Linked DNA regions of Homo sapiens: all the other regions are linked to region 1. The links are contacts of gene promoters, found by promoter capture Hi-C in human tissues and cell types (Jung and others, 2019). All regions are on one chromosome and are shown on one strand. Each heading gives the region's core, a stretch centred on a gene start or on the middle of the fragment in contact. The rest is flanking DNA. Distances are from core to core; before and after follow the strand shown.

Region 1 (4,599 bases), core at 1,306-3,805:
CCCAGGGGCTCTGCAGTGTCTGCAGATGTGGCTTGTGACCTCCCCTTACCCCCTGCCCAATGCTTTCTGGATGGAAGGGGAAAAATCAAGTTGCAAGGCCGTGAGAACTCAGGCCTGGATCCCGGATGGGGCCTCCCTGAGCTGGAGACCCATAGCAGCGGTGCTGCTATGCTCAGTTGAGACTGTGGCCCCCAGGCCCTTGTAGCAGCCAGGAATCAACAAGATCAAATGCAGGGAGGAGATGCGGAGGATGCACCCGGGGTGAGCCCCACTCAGCCCAGGCCCTGCTGGGGACCCCTGAGTGAGCCCCAGGCTAAGCTGTAAAACGGGAATAAGGCTGGGCGCAGTGGCTCACACCTGTGATCCCAGCACTTCGGGAGGTTGAGGCAGGTGGATCACCTGAGGTCAGGAGTTCAAGACCAGCCTGCCTAACATGGTGAAACCCCGTCTCTACTAAAAATACAAAAATTAGCTGGGCGTGGTGGCACGTGCCGATAATGCCAGCTACTCGGGAGGCTGAGGCAGGAGAATCGCTTGAACCCGGGAGGCAGAGGTTACAGTGAGCTGAGATCGCGCCACTGCACCCCAGCCTGGGCAACAGTGTGAGACTCGGACTCAAAAAAAAAAAAAAAAAAAGGAATAAACAGAGCTCACCTCATGGTACTGTTGTGAACGTTAAATGCGGTAAGGTGTACATACTCAGTAGCACGGGCCTGGAATTCAGTAGGGATGCAGGGTTTGCTTTAAAAGGTGCAAATATATGTTGGTGTACATACGTATAGGCACACAGAAATTGGGGAATTGATTTCTGCTTATCCGCTATCTTCTAAACACTTTTCAATGCTTTCCAAATATCCTTCACTAAGGAAGAATGTCTTTAATATTTAGAAAATAAAAGTGATTAAAACAATCATTCCCATCCCTGGAGGGCCACGGGTCCTAGTGGGTAGCCCCTTGAGGCCTGCCCCAGGGCTGGAAGCAGCTCCAGGCATCTGTCTCTGGGATTCACGATTCTCAGGGGCTTGGGGTAGCTATGCTCACTGAGAGATCCTGCAGAGATTGTAAAGTCAGGCCTAGGAAGCACCAGAACCCTGAGGCTGCTGAGCTCATGCCCTGGGTGTAGGAGGCACTCAGAACCCTCCTACCCCACCTCCTTCCCACAGTAGACTGCGGGGCGGGTTTGGAAGTGGCAGTGGTGGGGGGAGGGGGGTTGGGGTGTGGGACCTGGGACTGCATTTAGGTCTAGATGGGACTCTGTGGGGAGAGCCCAGAGTCCCTGCGGGGTTCCATACTCACCCCCATACAAGGCAAGCCAGGGAGTGAAGTGTGTGTGTGTGTGTGTGTGTGTGTTCTGGACGCAGAGCTGAATAGAACCTAAAGTTGGGGTCAAGGGCCAGTCTGTGGCCAAGATCAAGGGCCTAGCTTGAGGTTGGGGTGACAAGAACCTGGCCAAGCTTCTGATGATTTGTCCAGGGAATGACCTTGGCTGACTGTGCCAGAAGGGCTGTAGCCCCAGGTTTCTGATCCCCAGAGCCCCAAAGGCGTTCTCTGGGATGCTGGTGGCCATCTCCTTCTCAACCCTTCTCCCAGCGCCCTCGCTCGGGACCACTGAGGCGGTATCACTCCATTCTCCTGCAAGGACCCTTGAGCGTGCTGTGGGAGTGAGGCTGGCTTAGCCTCTGAGGACCACTGCAGCCTGTCCTGACCTCAGGCCCCAGGTTAGGGGGCAGCTGAGGAGGGGTCTCTGGGTCTTTCCGGGTGTGTGGCCGTTTTATTTCCGTGCCCTTGTTTTAAAACTGCACCTCTGTCCTCAGGAGCGTGGCCTTGGGCAGATGGAGAGCTGCGTGGCCGGTGCCGGAATGACTGTCAACGCCCCAGTGCGCCCGGATCACACCAGGCCTGAAGGCAGCGCCAGGCCCAGTCCAGGCAGCTTGCAGTTCCCGGGCCGCAGGGACGGGCGCCGGAGCCCCGCAGACGTTCGCCCAAGGGCGCTCCCGTATCCTCGTCTTTCACGGCCCGCCTGAGCGTCCAGGGCGGCTGCGGATGCGCGCACTTCCCCCGCCCGGATCCCGGAGGCTGCACCGTGCGGACGCGACTGCCGCGGGCAGGGCGCGCGCCGGGGGCGGGGTAGGGGGGCCCGGGGGCTCTCCCGGGCTTAGCGAGTCCGGCCGAGGCCGGGGCCCGGGGAGGGCGGAGGGCGGCGCTCCAGGTCCTTTCCCGACCCGGCCGCCGAGCTCCGTCCTCTGCGCCGCGGCGTCCGGCTCCCGCCGGGTGTCCCGCGCAGGGTCGACCGCCGGCAGCTCCGGAAGGAGGACGCGCGAGGGGCGAGGAGCTGCCGCCTCCCCTCCCCAGCGCTCGGGGTTCCCCACGCCCCGCCGGCCCCCACTGGGGACCCTCCCGGCCCCCGGACCCCAGCCCCGACCCCGGGAGCCCACCTGGCTGCCAGTGCGCGCGCGCGCGCGGCCGGCGCGCTGTCCCTTTAACGGCCCGCGGGCACCTCCCCCGCCGCCGCCCCGCCCCCGCCGCGGTGCGGCCGCCGGTGCTGGGCGAGGTCGGAGAAAGTCCATGGGAGCCGGAGCGCCGGGACGCCAAGCACTTCCTGCCGCGGGCGGCGCGCCGCAGCTGCCCAGGCCGGACCGGGCCGGGCGCCCGCAGGTACCGCCAACTTGGCGCGCGCGGCCGCCCCCGGGTTACGCCGCCGGGCGGGGTCGTCCCACGGGCCGGGCCCGCACTTCCCGCAAACTCCGCGGCCGCCCAACTTGGCGCGAGCCCCCTGCCGCAGTGCCGGCCGCGCGGGGCGGGTGCGGCCGAGTTCCGCGCCGGCCCGGGCGTGCGCGCGGGAACCGGCCTCGGGAGCCCGCGGAGGGGGGCCGGGCGGGGCCGGGGGGTCCCGGCGGAGGCGCCCGCGACCCCGGGCCGGGACGCCGCGCCGCGCGTTCGGGGAGACCCCGGCTCCGGGCGTCCCGGGGCGCTCCCCGCCGCCTGCTGGGTTTCCCTGGATTTCTGGGGACCCGCGCGGCCTCCCCAGGGACCCGACTGGCCGATCCAGCCCTCCGGGTGGGGAAGCCGGGGCAGGACTGGCCCGGGGCCAGGGCGGAGGTACCCACCCCTCCCGGCGCATCTGCGCAGCTGCCTGGCCCAGCCGGGCCCGCGCCTCGCCCTCCCGGTCCAGGTGGGCCCGTTCGTGGGTCGTCACCGCCTCCCGCGCCTCCCCCACTCGGGCCCCAGCCTGGGGAGAAACTGGGGTCCGGCCGCAGGGGGAGGGGGCTCTGCCTCTTGCCAGCTTCTGTGCCTCTGCGGAGCTGAGGTCGGGGGGCCCCAGCTCCTTCTCTAAGAAACTCAGCGGAGCCCGGGGCCCGCCGCGCACCCCGCACGGCCAGGGCGGACCGAGGCCTTCCGACGGAGTTTCCTGCTTCTCTTGCTGGGATCGTGTGGGGTCGGAGGTCAGAGGTCACCTCCCAGCCCCTCTGCCAGGCTCTGGGGGAAGTTTGGTCTTGGACTCTCGTCGTGGAGCCGCTTAAACCTGTGGGTCTGAAGGCCGCGAGGCCGGGTCCCTGGAGTTGGCCTCCCAGGCCGTTCCACTCCCTCCCCCAACCCCCGCGCGGGGCCTCCGGATTGGAGGTGTTTCACCCACGTGCTGGTGGGCCCGTCTCCCTGGGCCGCTGGGTGCCCTGAGCTGTGTTCTCTGCTGCGCGTTCCTTCCTGTGTGTGGCGGGGGTGCTGACCCGGGGGTGCCCAAGGCAGCCCGGACTCCCATCCCGTGGAGCTGCCTCCGGGAGCGCGTGCACCTTGGTGTTCCCGCCCGCCAGCGCGGCCGCACTCTCCTGCCAGAGTCCGTGTCCCTCCAGGTCGCCCCTTCTTCTCACCCACCCCTCTTTTCGTCTGGCAGGCTCCTGACCTCCTTCCCTCCTGTTCTCCAGTGGGACACTCAGCTCAGCATTCTGCAGGGTGTTTTAGCCTGTAGCACCCCCCAGCAGGGGCGCCTAGAGTTAGGTCAGGGTTCAGGCAGCCCCCGCCCCACCCGCCACCTCTCAGCCACCCACCCCTTCTTCTCCCGGCCACCGTTGGAGCACCCCTCTGGTCCTCTGTGGGGCCTTTCCCAGCCCCTCCCTTAAAGAGGCCTCTTGGCGTTTTCCCCTGGGGTCACTGTTGGGTGGTAGCTGGGCCAGAGTCCAAGGGGAGGAAATAAAAGGAGCTGCCACCCAAGGTGGTGGCCCCCTGTCCTTTCGGCAAAGCCACTTGGAATGGGCACAGAGAGTGGAACAAGATATCACTTGTCACTTCTTAGTGGCCAGGGATCCTTTCGCAGTGGTCACACCCAGGGCTCGATGGTGCTGGCCCTGGCCTGGCGGGAAGGCGGGGAGGAGCCACCCGGGAGATCTCCTGCTGGGAGCAGTGGGAGCTGGGCTGCTACAGGCTGCGAGAACAGGCTCTGTTCTTTACCACCGGCTGCTGGAAGGGTTCGCAGGGCTGCTCTGCCCTGGGCAGGGGGCTAGTGGTGACTTTTAAAAAATTCTTCAATCCTCCCTTTGTTTTCCAATTAAAGCATGAGGCTGCATTATTCATGAAACAACAGTGACGATCTTGGTGCTGAGCGGT
Region 2 (4,599 bases), core at 638-3,137, 250 kb after region 1:
ATTGTGATGTTTGAGCATCAATTTCAGATCTTTCCAGCTTTCTGTTATGGGCATTTAGTGCTATAAATTTCCCTCTAAACACTGCTTTAGCTGTGTCCCAGAGATTCTGGTACATTACCTCTTTGTTCCCATTTGTTTCAAAGAACTTCTTTATTTCTGCCTTAATTTCGTAATTTACCCAGTAGTCATTCAGGAGCAGGTTGTTGAGTTTCCATGTAGTTGTGCGGTTTTGAGTGAGTTTCTTCATCCTGAGTTCTAATTTGATTGCACTTTGGTCTGAGAGATTGTTTGTTATGATTTCCGTTCTTTGGCATTTGCTGAGGAGTGTTTTACTTCCAATTATGTGGTCAATTTTAGAGTAAGTGCTACGTGGTGCTGAGAAGAATGTGTATTCTGTTGATTTGGGGTGGAGAGTTCTCTTGATGTCTATTAGGTCTGCCTGGTCCAGAGCTGAATTCAAGTCCTGAGTATTGTTAATTTTCTGTCCCGATCTGTCTAATATTGACAGTGGGGTGTTAAAGTCTCCCACTATTATTGTGTGGCAGTGTAAGTCTCTTTCTAGGTCTCTAAGAACTTGCTTTATGAATCTGGGTGCTCCTCTATTGGGGGCATACAGATTTAGGATAGTTAGCGCTTCTTTTTTTTTTTTTTTTTTTTTTTGAGACGGAGTCTTGCTCTGTCGCCCAGGTTGGAGAGCAGTGGCGCGATCTTGGCTGACTGCAAGCTCCGCCTCCCAGGTTCACGCCATTGTCCTGCCTCAGCCTCCCAAGTAGCTGGGACTACAGGTGCCCGCCACCACGCCCAGCCAATTTTTTTTGTATTTTTTAGTAGAGACGGGGTTTCAGCGTGTTAGCCAGGATGGTCTCGATCTCCTGACCTCGTGATCCACCTGTCTCGGCCTCCCAGAGTGCTGGGATTACAGGCATGAACCACTGCGCCCTGCCAGCTCTTCTTATTGCATTGATCCCTTTACCATTATGTAATGCCCTTCTTTGTCTTTTTTGATCTTTGTTGGTTTAAAGTCTGTTTTATCAGAGACTAGGATTGCACCCCCTGCTTCTTTTTTGCTTTCCATTTGCTTGGTAAATGTTCCTCCATCCCTTTATTTTGAGTCTTTGTACATGAGATGGGTTTGCTGAATACAGCACACTGATGGGTCTTGACTCTTTATCCAATTTGCAGTCTGTCTTTTTATTTATTTATTTTGAGATGGAGTTTCGCTCTTGTTGTCCAGGCTGGAGTGCAATGGTGTGGTCTTGGCTCACTGCAGCCTCTGCCTCCCGGGTTCAAGCGATTCTCCTGCCTCAGCCTCCCGAGTAGCTGGGATTACAGGCCTGTGCCACCACACCTGGCTAATTTTGTATTTTTAGTAGAGACGGGGTTTCTCCATGTTGGTCAGGCTGGTCTCGAACTCCCGACCTCAGGTAATTCACCTGCCACGGCCTTCCAAGGTGCTGGGATTACAGGTGCGAGCCACCACACCCGGCCCAGTCTGTGTCTTTTAACTGGGGGCATTTAGCCCATTTACATTTAAGGTTAATATTGTTATGTGTGAATTTGATCCTGTCATTATGATGCTAGCTGCTTATTTTGCCCGTTAGTTGATGCAGTTTCTTCATAGATAGTGTTGATGGTCTTTACAATTTGGCATCTTTTTGCAGTGGCTGGTACCAGTTTTTCCTTTCCATGTTTAGTGCTTCCTTCAGGAGCTCTTGTAAGGCCTGGTGGTGACAAAATCTCTCAGCATTTGCTTGTCTGTAAAGGATTTTGTTTCTCCTTCGCTTATGAAGCTTAGTTTGGCTGGATATGAAATTCTGGGTTGAAAATTCTTTTCTTTAAGAATGTTGAATATTGGCCCTCACTCTCTTCTGGCTTTTAGGGTATCTGCAGAGAGATCTGCTGTTAGTTTGATGGGCTTCCCTTTGTGGGTAACCTGACCTTTCTCTCTGGCTGCACTTAACATTTTTTCCTTCATTTCAACCTTGGTGAATCTGATGATTGCGTCTTGGGGTTGCTCTTCTCGTGGAGTGTGCTGTTCTCCGTATTTCCTGAATTTGAATGTTGGCCTGTCTTGCTAGGTTGGGGAAGTTCTCCTGGATAATATCCTGAAGTTTGTTTTCCAACTTGGTTCCATTCTCCCCGTCACTTTAGGTACATCAGTCAAACGTAGGTTTGGGCTTTTCACATAGTCCCATATTTCTTGGAGGCTTTGTTTGTTCCTTTTCATTCTTTTTTCTCTAATCTTGTCTTCATGCTTTATTTCATTAAGTTGATCTTCAATCTCTGATATCCTTTCTTCCACTTGATCGATTCAGCTACTGATACTTGTGTATATTTCATGAAGTTCTCGTGCTGTGTTTTTCAGCTCCGTCAAGTCATTTGTGTTCTTCTCTAAGCTGGTTATTCTAGTTAGCAATTCCTCTAACCTTTTTTCAAGGTTCTTAGCTTCCTTGCATTAAGTTAGAACATGCTCCTTTAGCTCAGAGGAATTTGTTATTCCCCACCTTCTGAAGCCTACTTCTGTCAGTTTGTCAAACACATTCTTCGTCCAGCTTTGTTCCCTTGCTGGCAAGGAGTTGTGATCCTTTGGAGGAGAGGAGGCATTCTGGTTTTTGGAATTTTCAGCCTTTTTGCACTGGTTATTCCTCATCTTTGTGGATTTATCTACCTTTGGTTTTTGATGTTGGTGACCTTTGGATGGGGTTTTTGTGTGGATGTCCTTTTTGTTGATGTTGATGCTATTCCTTTCTGTTACTTTTCCTTCTAAAAGCCAGGTCCCTCTGCTGCAGGTCTGCTGGAGTTTGCTGGAGGTCCACTCCAAACCCTGTTTGCCTGGATATCACCAGCAGAGGTTGCAGAACAGCAAAGATTGCTGCCTGTTCCTTCCTCTGGAAGCTTTGTCCCAGAAGGGCACCCTCCGGATGTCAACCGGAGCTCTCCTGTATGAGGTGTCTGTTGACCCCTGCTGGGAGGTAAACACCCAGTCAGGAGGCACGGGAGTCAGGGACCTACTTGAAGGCAGTCTGTCCCTTAGCAGAGCTTGAGCGCTGTGCTGGGAGAGCCACTGATCTCTTCAGAGCCAGCAGGCGGTGATGTTTAAGTCTGCTGAGGCTATGCCCATAGCCACCCCTTCCCCTAGGTGCTCTGTCCCAGGGAGATGGGAGTTTTATGTATAAGCCCCTGACTAGGGCTAATACTTTTCTTTCAGAGATGCCCTGCTCAGAGAGGAGGAATCTAGAGAGGCAGTCTGGCTACAGCGGCTTTGCCCAGCTCTGGAGGGCTCCACCCAGTTTAAACTTCCTGGCGGCTTTGTTTACACTGTGAGGGAAAAACCCACCTACTCAAGCCTCAGTAATGGTGGACGTCCCTCCTCCCACCAAGCTCGAGCACCCCAGGTCGACTTCAGACTACTGTGCTGGCAGCGAGAATTTCAAGCCAGTGGATCTTAGCTTCCTGGGCTCTGTGGGGGTTGGATCCACTGAGCTAGACCACTTGCCTCCCTGACTTCAGCACCCTTTCCAGGGGAATGAACAGTTCTGCCTCGCTGGCGTTCCAGGCACCACTAGGGTATGAAAAAAAACTCCTGCAACTAGCTCGGTGTCTGCCCAAATGGTCGCCCAGTTTTGTGCTGGAAACCCAGGGCCCTGGTGGTGTAAGCACTGAAGGGAATCTCCTGGTCTGTGGGTTGCGAAGACTGTGGGAAAAGCATAGTATTTGGACCAGAATGCACCATTCCTCACGGCTTCCCTTGGCTGGAAGAGGGAGTTCCCCGACCCATTGTGCTTCCTGGGTGAGGTGATTCCCCACCGTGCTTGCCCTCTGTGGGCTGCACCCACTGTCTAATCAGCCCCAATGAAATGAGCTGGGTACCTCAGTAGGAAATGTAGAAATCACCCGCCTTCTGTGTTGATCTTGCTGGGAGCTGCAGATTGGAGCTGTTTGATCTTGCCAGCCACCTTCCTCCTGCCTTTCTTCACCCTTTTCATGATACTGTCCAGCTCAAGAAGGAAGTCTTGTTTTTCCTGCTGCTTGTGAGGTGGTTTCACCTGTTCTGCCTGGTGGGAAAGGCCTCTTCCCATCGGACCCCGTCGTGAGTCATGGCTGGAGCCCCCTTCTTCTTGCGGGGCTCCTCTTCTTGCCTGCTGGTCCTTAGGAATGAGGAGTCAGGAATGCTAGGAAGCAGCTAAGCTTCAGTTCACTCTGGGATGAGACATAGCGGGGGAGGGGGACCTCAGAGTCATGGGCCCGCTCTGCACCTCCGAGGCTGGGGAGTGTCTCTGGTCTGATACAGTATTATGTGGGGCCCTGTGCAGTGGGTCCTACTGCCAACCGTTGGGTAGTGATGCCTGCTGAAACCCTATGGCCAGGAGAGGCCAACACTCAGGTGCAGAATGCACGGCTGCTCTTGGAAAAGTGAACTGCTGGCCCTTCCAGGCTGCAAGGGGTCCATTGTAGTTACCTTGCTGCCTAGTGATTGGTTGGTCTTCTCCAGGACGGTGCCATATTAGGAGTCAGCACTGGTCTTGGCAGGTGGTAGTCTGTGCTCTTAGTCTCCATACCTGCCTACCTCTGGCTGCTTCATGTGTGTGTCTGTTGTCC
Region 3 (4,599 bases), core at 1,273-3,772, 190 kb after region 1:
ACTTCCTCGGCTGGGCGTGGTAGCTCACGCCTATAATCCCAGCATTTTGGGAGGCCCAGGGGGGTGGATTACTGGAGGTCAGGAGTTCAAGACCAGCCTGGCCAACATGGTAAAACCCCATCTCTACTAAAAATACAAAACTAGCTGGGCGTGGCGGCCTGTGCCTGCAATCCCAGCTACTCAGGAGGCTGAGGCAGGAAAATCGCTTGAACCTGGGAGGCAGAGGTTGCAGTGAGCCAAGATCCAGCCACTGTACTCCAGCCTGGGTGACAGAGTGAGACACTATCTCAAACAAACAAAAAATAGGTTTTATCAGGTTGAGGAAGTACCCTTTTTTTTAATGATTTTTAGACAGTTTCCCTTTTTTAGCTGGGATTACAGGCACCGGCCACCAACCTCAGCTAACTTTTTGTATTTTTAGTAGAGATGGGATTTCTCCATGTTGGCCAGGCTGGTCTCAAACTCTGGACCCCACGTGATCCGCCCGCCTCGACCTCCCAAAGGGTTGGGATTACAGGCGTGAGCCACTGTGCCCAGCCTGATAAAACCTATTTTTTAAGCACCCACAGCTATCATCATACCCAAAGGTGAAAGACTGGATGCCTCCTCCCTGAAATCAGGAGCAAGACAAGGATGTCCACTCTTGCTGCTTCTAGTCAATATTGTACTGGAGCTTCTAGATAGGGCAGCTAGGCAAGGAGAAGAAATAAAAGGCATCCAGATTAGAAAGGAAGAGATAAACTGATCTCTATTCACAAATGACACGCTTTTGTATAAAATCCCAAGGAATCCACTAAAACACTAGAACAACTAATAAATGCCACTAAAAGACAAGAAGAACTAATAAATGGGTTTAGCAAGGTTGCAGGATAAAAGATCAGTACACAAAAAGCCCTTAGAGTCACACTTGACCTTTCCGGGTCACACTCCACATCCCATATAACAGTAGATGGCCTCCTGCCTCCTCCTCAGCCCTTCCTAGTCTGTTCTTCACCCAGGAGTCAGAATGACCCTTTTAAAGGGTTAGTCATATCCTTCCGTGTGCTCAGTCTTCCGAAGGCTGCCCATTTCCTGCAGAGAAGGGGCCACAGTTCTGACTGTGCAGGACCTGTCTGCATCCCTCCATGTCCCCACCTCCCATTTCCTACCAGTCCTTCCAGCTCCTGCGTTCTCGACTTAGTGGCCTCTACTGTGTTTCTTACACTCCAGGCTCTCGTGTCTCAGAGGCTCTGTCTGCCGTGCTCCTTGCTCAAGACAGTACTTCTGCAGATATCCTTACCCTCGACGCCCACGTCCCGCCGGTCTTTGCTCAAATAAGTGCCCTCCTCCTATGGCTTTCCTTGACCGCTCTGCCCTGTCCACCTCGTGTTCTTTTCAGACGGCTGACTCAAGAAAAAATAGACAATCTCAACAGACCTATAACAAGTGAAGAGACTCAATTAGTAACCAAAAAACTATGAATCAAATAAGTCATCAAAAAAGCCCAGGCCCAAATGGCTTCAAGGTTGAATTGAAGCCTGCACGTGGGTTGGTATGTGAATGACGGACTGCCTGGGTCCTCTGGGCACCTGGCATTTCATACATGTTCCGCCTCTGGCACGGGGTGTCTCGACCAGGTACAGACAGGCTGGGAGCCCCGCGCCGGGCGCCCGCTCCCTGGAAGCTCGACCTCTCCCTGCCGTCAAGGCGCCGGTGGGCGGCACGTGGGCCGGCTCTCCCGGGGGCAGTTCTCTATTTCGCTGGTGAGGTTCTCAGACCAAATCCTCGGAATGCAAACTCTCACGGCGTTCCCGTAATTCTCAGCCCAGCGCGGGCCCCGACGCAGGCTCCAGGGGAACGAAGTCAGCGTCCCTTCCGGGGGATGCGCCGGCGGGGCCGCACCTGTTTCTGCCTCAGGGGTCCAAACGCCCACCTTCCCTGCACCGGGACGGGGGTCTGGAGACTGGCACGTCCACCTGGTGCCCGTCTGCTGGGCTGTCGCCTGCCGAGGTCGCCGCCGGCCACACCCACGAGGTCCCCAGGGCGCCGGCGGCGAGACCTCGGCCGGCCAGGGGGCCGGGCTGTGGCTGAGGTGGGACGAGCCAGGGCCGGGGAGGAGACACGGCGCTAAAAGAGGGCAGCTGCGGGCTCGGCAGGATCCCCGCCGCCGACCCACTCCACCCACCCCGCGCCGCCCACTCCCCGCTGCCTACGCCGCGCTCCACACCGCGGGCCTTAGAGCCTGAGGAAAGCAACGGGGCAGGCGCGGACCAGGGCGGGTCCTACTGCGCCTGCGGAAGCGGGCGGGGAGGGGCGGGTCGACGCTCACTGCGCCTGCGGAAAGGGGCGGGGCAGGCACAGGCCTGCGGGTGCCACCTACTGCGCCTGCGGAAAGGGGCGGGGCGGGCGCGGGCTGGCGGGCGGTGCCTACTGCGCCTGCGGAAAGGGGCGGGGCAGGCGCGAGAAGGGAGCGGAGCTGGGGGCGGGGTCGAGGGCGGGGTGGCGGGCGGTGCCTACTGCGCCTGTGCGAGGCCCCGGCGGTGAGCGCGCTCCCGCTCCTTGGCCACCGCCTCAGCCGCTGTCGCCGCCGCCGCCGCTCACCCGGGACCGCGCACGCGCTGCCACCGCCCCCGGCCCGCTCCCGCCCCCGCGCCCGCCCCCGCCCCCGGCCCGCGCCCTCCTGCCGCCGCCTCTTTGGGCCGCGGGCTCGGCACCTCCTCCGCTCGGGCTCAGCGCCCGCAGCATGCAGCAGCCGCGGGGGCGGCGACGGCGGCGGCTGTGAGGTGAGGCGGGGGCCGCGCTCGGGCGCCCCTCCCGGCTGGCCGGCTGCGGGGCCGAGTGGTGGCTCGGGGCGCACCGGGCCCGGCGCGGCGAGGGGCGGCGGCGCCTTTGTTGCGGCCGGGCCGCCGCCTCAGCCCTTTGTCTGCAGATGGTGGACGCGAGCGGCCGCGCCGCCGCCGAGGGCTGGAGGAAGATGGAGGCCCCGCCGGACGGCGCCGCCGACCTCGTGCCCCTGGACCGCTACGACGCGGCGCGCGCCAAGATCGCCGCCAACCTGCAGTGGATCTGCGCCAAGGCCTACGGCCGAGGTGGGCCGGGTGAGGGGCGCGGGGCGGGGGCCAGGGGCGCGGGCCGGGGCCGGGGGACGCGGCCGGGGTCCGGCCGGGTCGGGGTCCGCGCGCCGCGCCTTTGTGCCGCGTCCGCACAGGGTCGGGGCTGGGCCGGCCGCCTCCGAGGTCCTGGCGGCGCCCGGGCAACGCGGAGCGTGGGGACGCGGTCACCTGGCGAGTGGGCGTCCCTGCGGCGGAGGGCGGCGTGGGTCGGGGCTTCCGCTCCTATTTCGGGAGTGCCCCCAGCCTCCCGTTGGCGGCGGCGGCGGCGGGAAGGAGCTGCCCGGTTCTGGGCGCAGGGAGGGACCATGGGGACGCGGGGCCGCCGTCTGAGGCGCCGCTTCCCGGCGCGCCGGGCATCGTCCAGTGCTGGACCTGTGATTCCGAGCCTTGCACTTGTTATGAATTTTGATGCTTACAAGCTGTCAGCTGTTGAATTCCCCAACTAGAAATTGCGTATTCCGCGCATTGTGCTTAATCATAATGATCCCCTTTGGTTAATTCCTGTTTGGAAGAACTAGGTAACCTTGTTACTCAGTCCAGTTTGTTAGGCCCTAATGTGCTTAGTGGATTAAGACGCTTCTGTTTCGTGCCCTGGGAACAGGACAGACCTAGTGATTCTCGTCAGTGGCTGACTTCTTTATTAATTTCAGGTGCTTTGTTTCAGGTACAATTAAAGGTTAATATTTCTGCAATCCTCTTTTCATTTGAAGCATTCTTAAAATATTTGCCTTTATTCTGGTGAAAAATTACCCTTTTTAGAGTAAGACTAAAGGAGACAGCCCTTCCAGAGAAGAGTTCAGTTGACCAGTTTGGAAAACGCTGAGTAGGCGTTGCCCTGTTTGACAGTGGCCTGTGCCCCAGCTAGACTCGAGTTAGTCATAAGGACAAACGCGTTTTGTAAGTTTTAGGGATTAAATAACTCGCCTTATTTCAAACTGGTTTTTGTACTGTGTAAGTAGTAATTGGGAAAGAGTTTTTCCTTTGACAGTTTTCAGTTTTACAGTTCTTGTTTACTGGCTCAGTGGAACCTTAGTTTCTGTGTTGTAATGAGGAAGAAACACTGCTACATCCAAGACTTCACATGAGTTTTTGAGAACGGAATTGGTAAGATGTAGGTATGAAACTTGAGTCAGGTGCAAAGAACAGCCCGAGAGCGGACGCCTGGGTATCTTGCAGTCACTGCCGGCTGCGTGGGCTCACCTGCCTCACACCTTGTGTTAGTCACTGTTTTGCTTTTCTTTGTATTTTGCCGCATGTGCTTACACCACGAACTAGTTTTTACACCTTTGCCAATGATGTCTCTTTCTGAGACTGGCTTTTGTTATTCCCTTATCCCACGTTACGTTCTTAGGTTCTTCTTGACTTCATCTTCACTTTTCCACATTTCCGCTGCTGTGGAGTGTCTCACTGAGGACTGTTCACCGCAGCTGCTCGTGGGCGCTGGCTGGGCTCCCGTAGGTGCTGTGGAGCCCAGTGCATTCTTGGGCATGGCTCCTGGGATCCGAGC

The links. Contacts are between HindIII fragments. The study calls those that stand out against the background at their distance.
Region 2: a fragment that was not itself captured here is called in contact with the fragment with the promoter of NACC2 in region 1 in 4 of the 25 tissues and cell types used here (IMR-90 fibroblasts, dorsolateral prefrontal cortex, heart right ventricle and 1 more).
Region 3: a contact is called between the fragment with the promoter of CAMSAP1 here and the fragment with the promoter of NACC2 in region 1, in 1 of the 25 tissues and cell types used here (dorsolateral prefrontal cortex).

The regions. Positions count from the first base shown.
Region 1 is chr9:136,093,245-136,097,843 of GRCh38, reverse strand. NACC2 (NACC family member 2) reads left to right here and starts at 2,555. Exons shown (of 6, transcript NM_144653.5): 1 at 2,555-2,655. RefSeq lists silencers at 2,093-2,192, 2,513-2,642 and an enhancer at 3,848-4,539. The HindIII fragment of the contact is 19,137 bases long and covers 1-4,599 here.
Region 2 is chr9:135,839,935-135,844,533 of GRCh38, reverse strand. All of the region lies in intron 7 of CAMSAP1 (calmodulin regulated spectrin associated protein 1), which reads left to right. Among named protein-coding and RNA genes, the nearest start is that of CAMSAP1, 65 kb to the left of the region's middle. The HindIII fragment of the contact is 5,758 bases long and covers 1-4,599 here.
Region 3 is chr9:135,905,469-135,910,067 of GRCh38, reverse strand. It overlaps CAMSAP1 (calmodulin regulated spectrin associated protein 1), which reads left to right and starts at 2,522. Exons shown (of 17, transcript NM_015447.4): 1 at 2,522-3,068. The coding sequence starts at 2,909. CAMSAP1-DT (CAMSAP1 divergent transcript) reads right to left here and starts at 2,235. Exons shown (of 2, transcript XR_007061860.1): 1 at 1,149-2,235. RefSeq lists silencers at 1,954-2,633, 2,674-2,783, 2,864-2,933, 3,334-3,383 and an enhancer at 4,030-4,599. The HindIII fragment of the contact is 39,877 bases long and covers 1-4,599 here.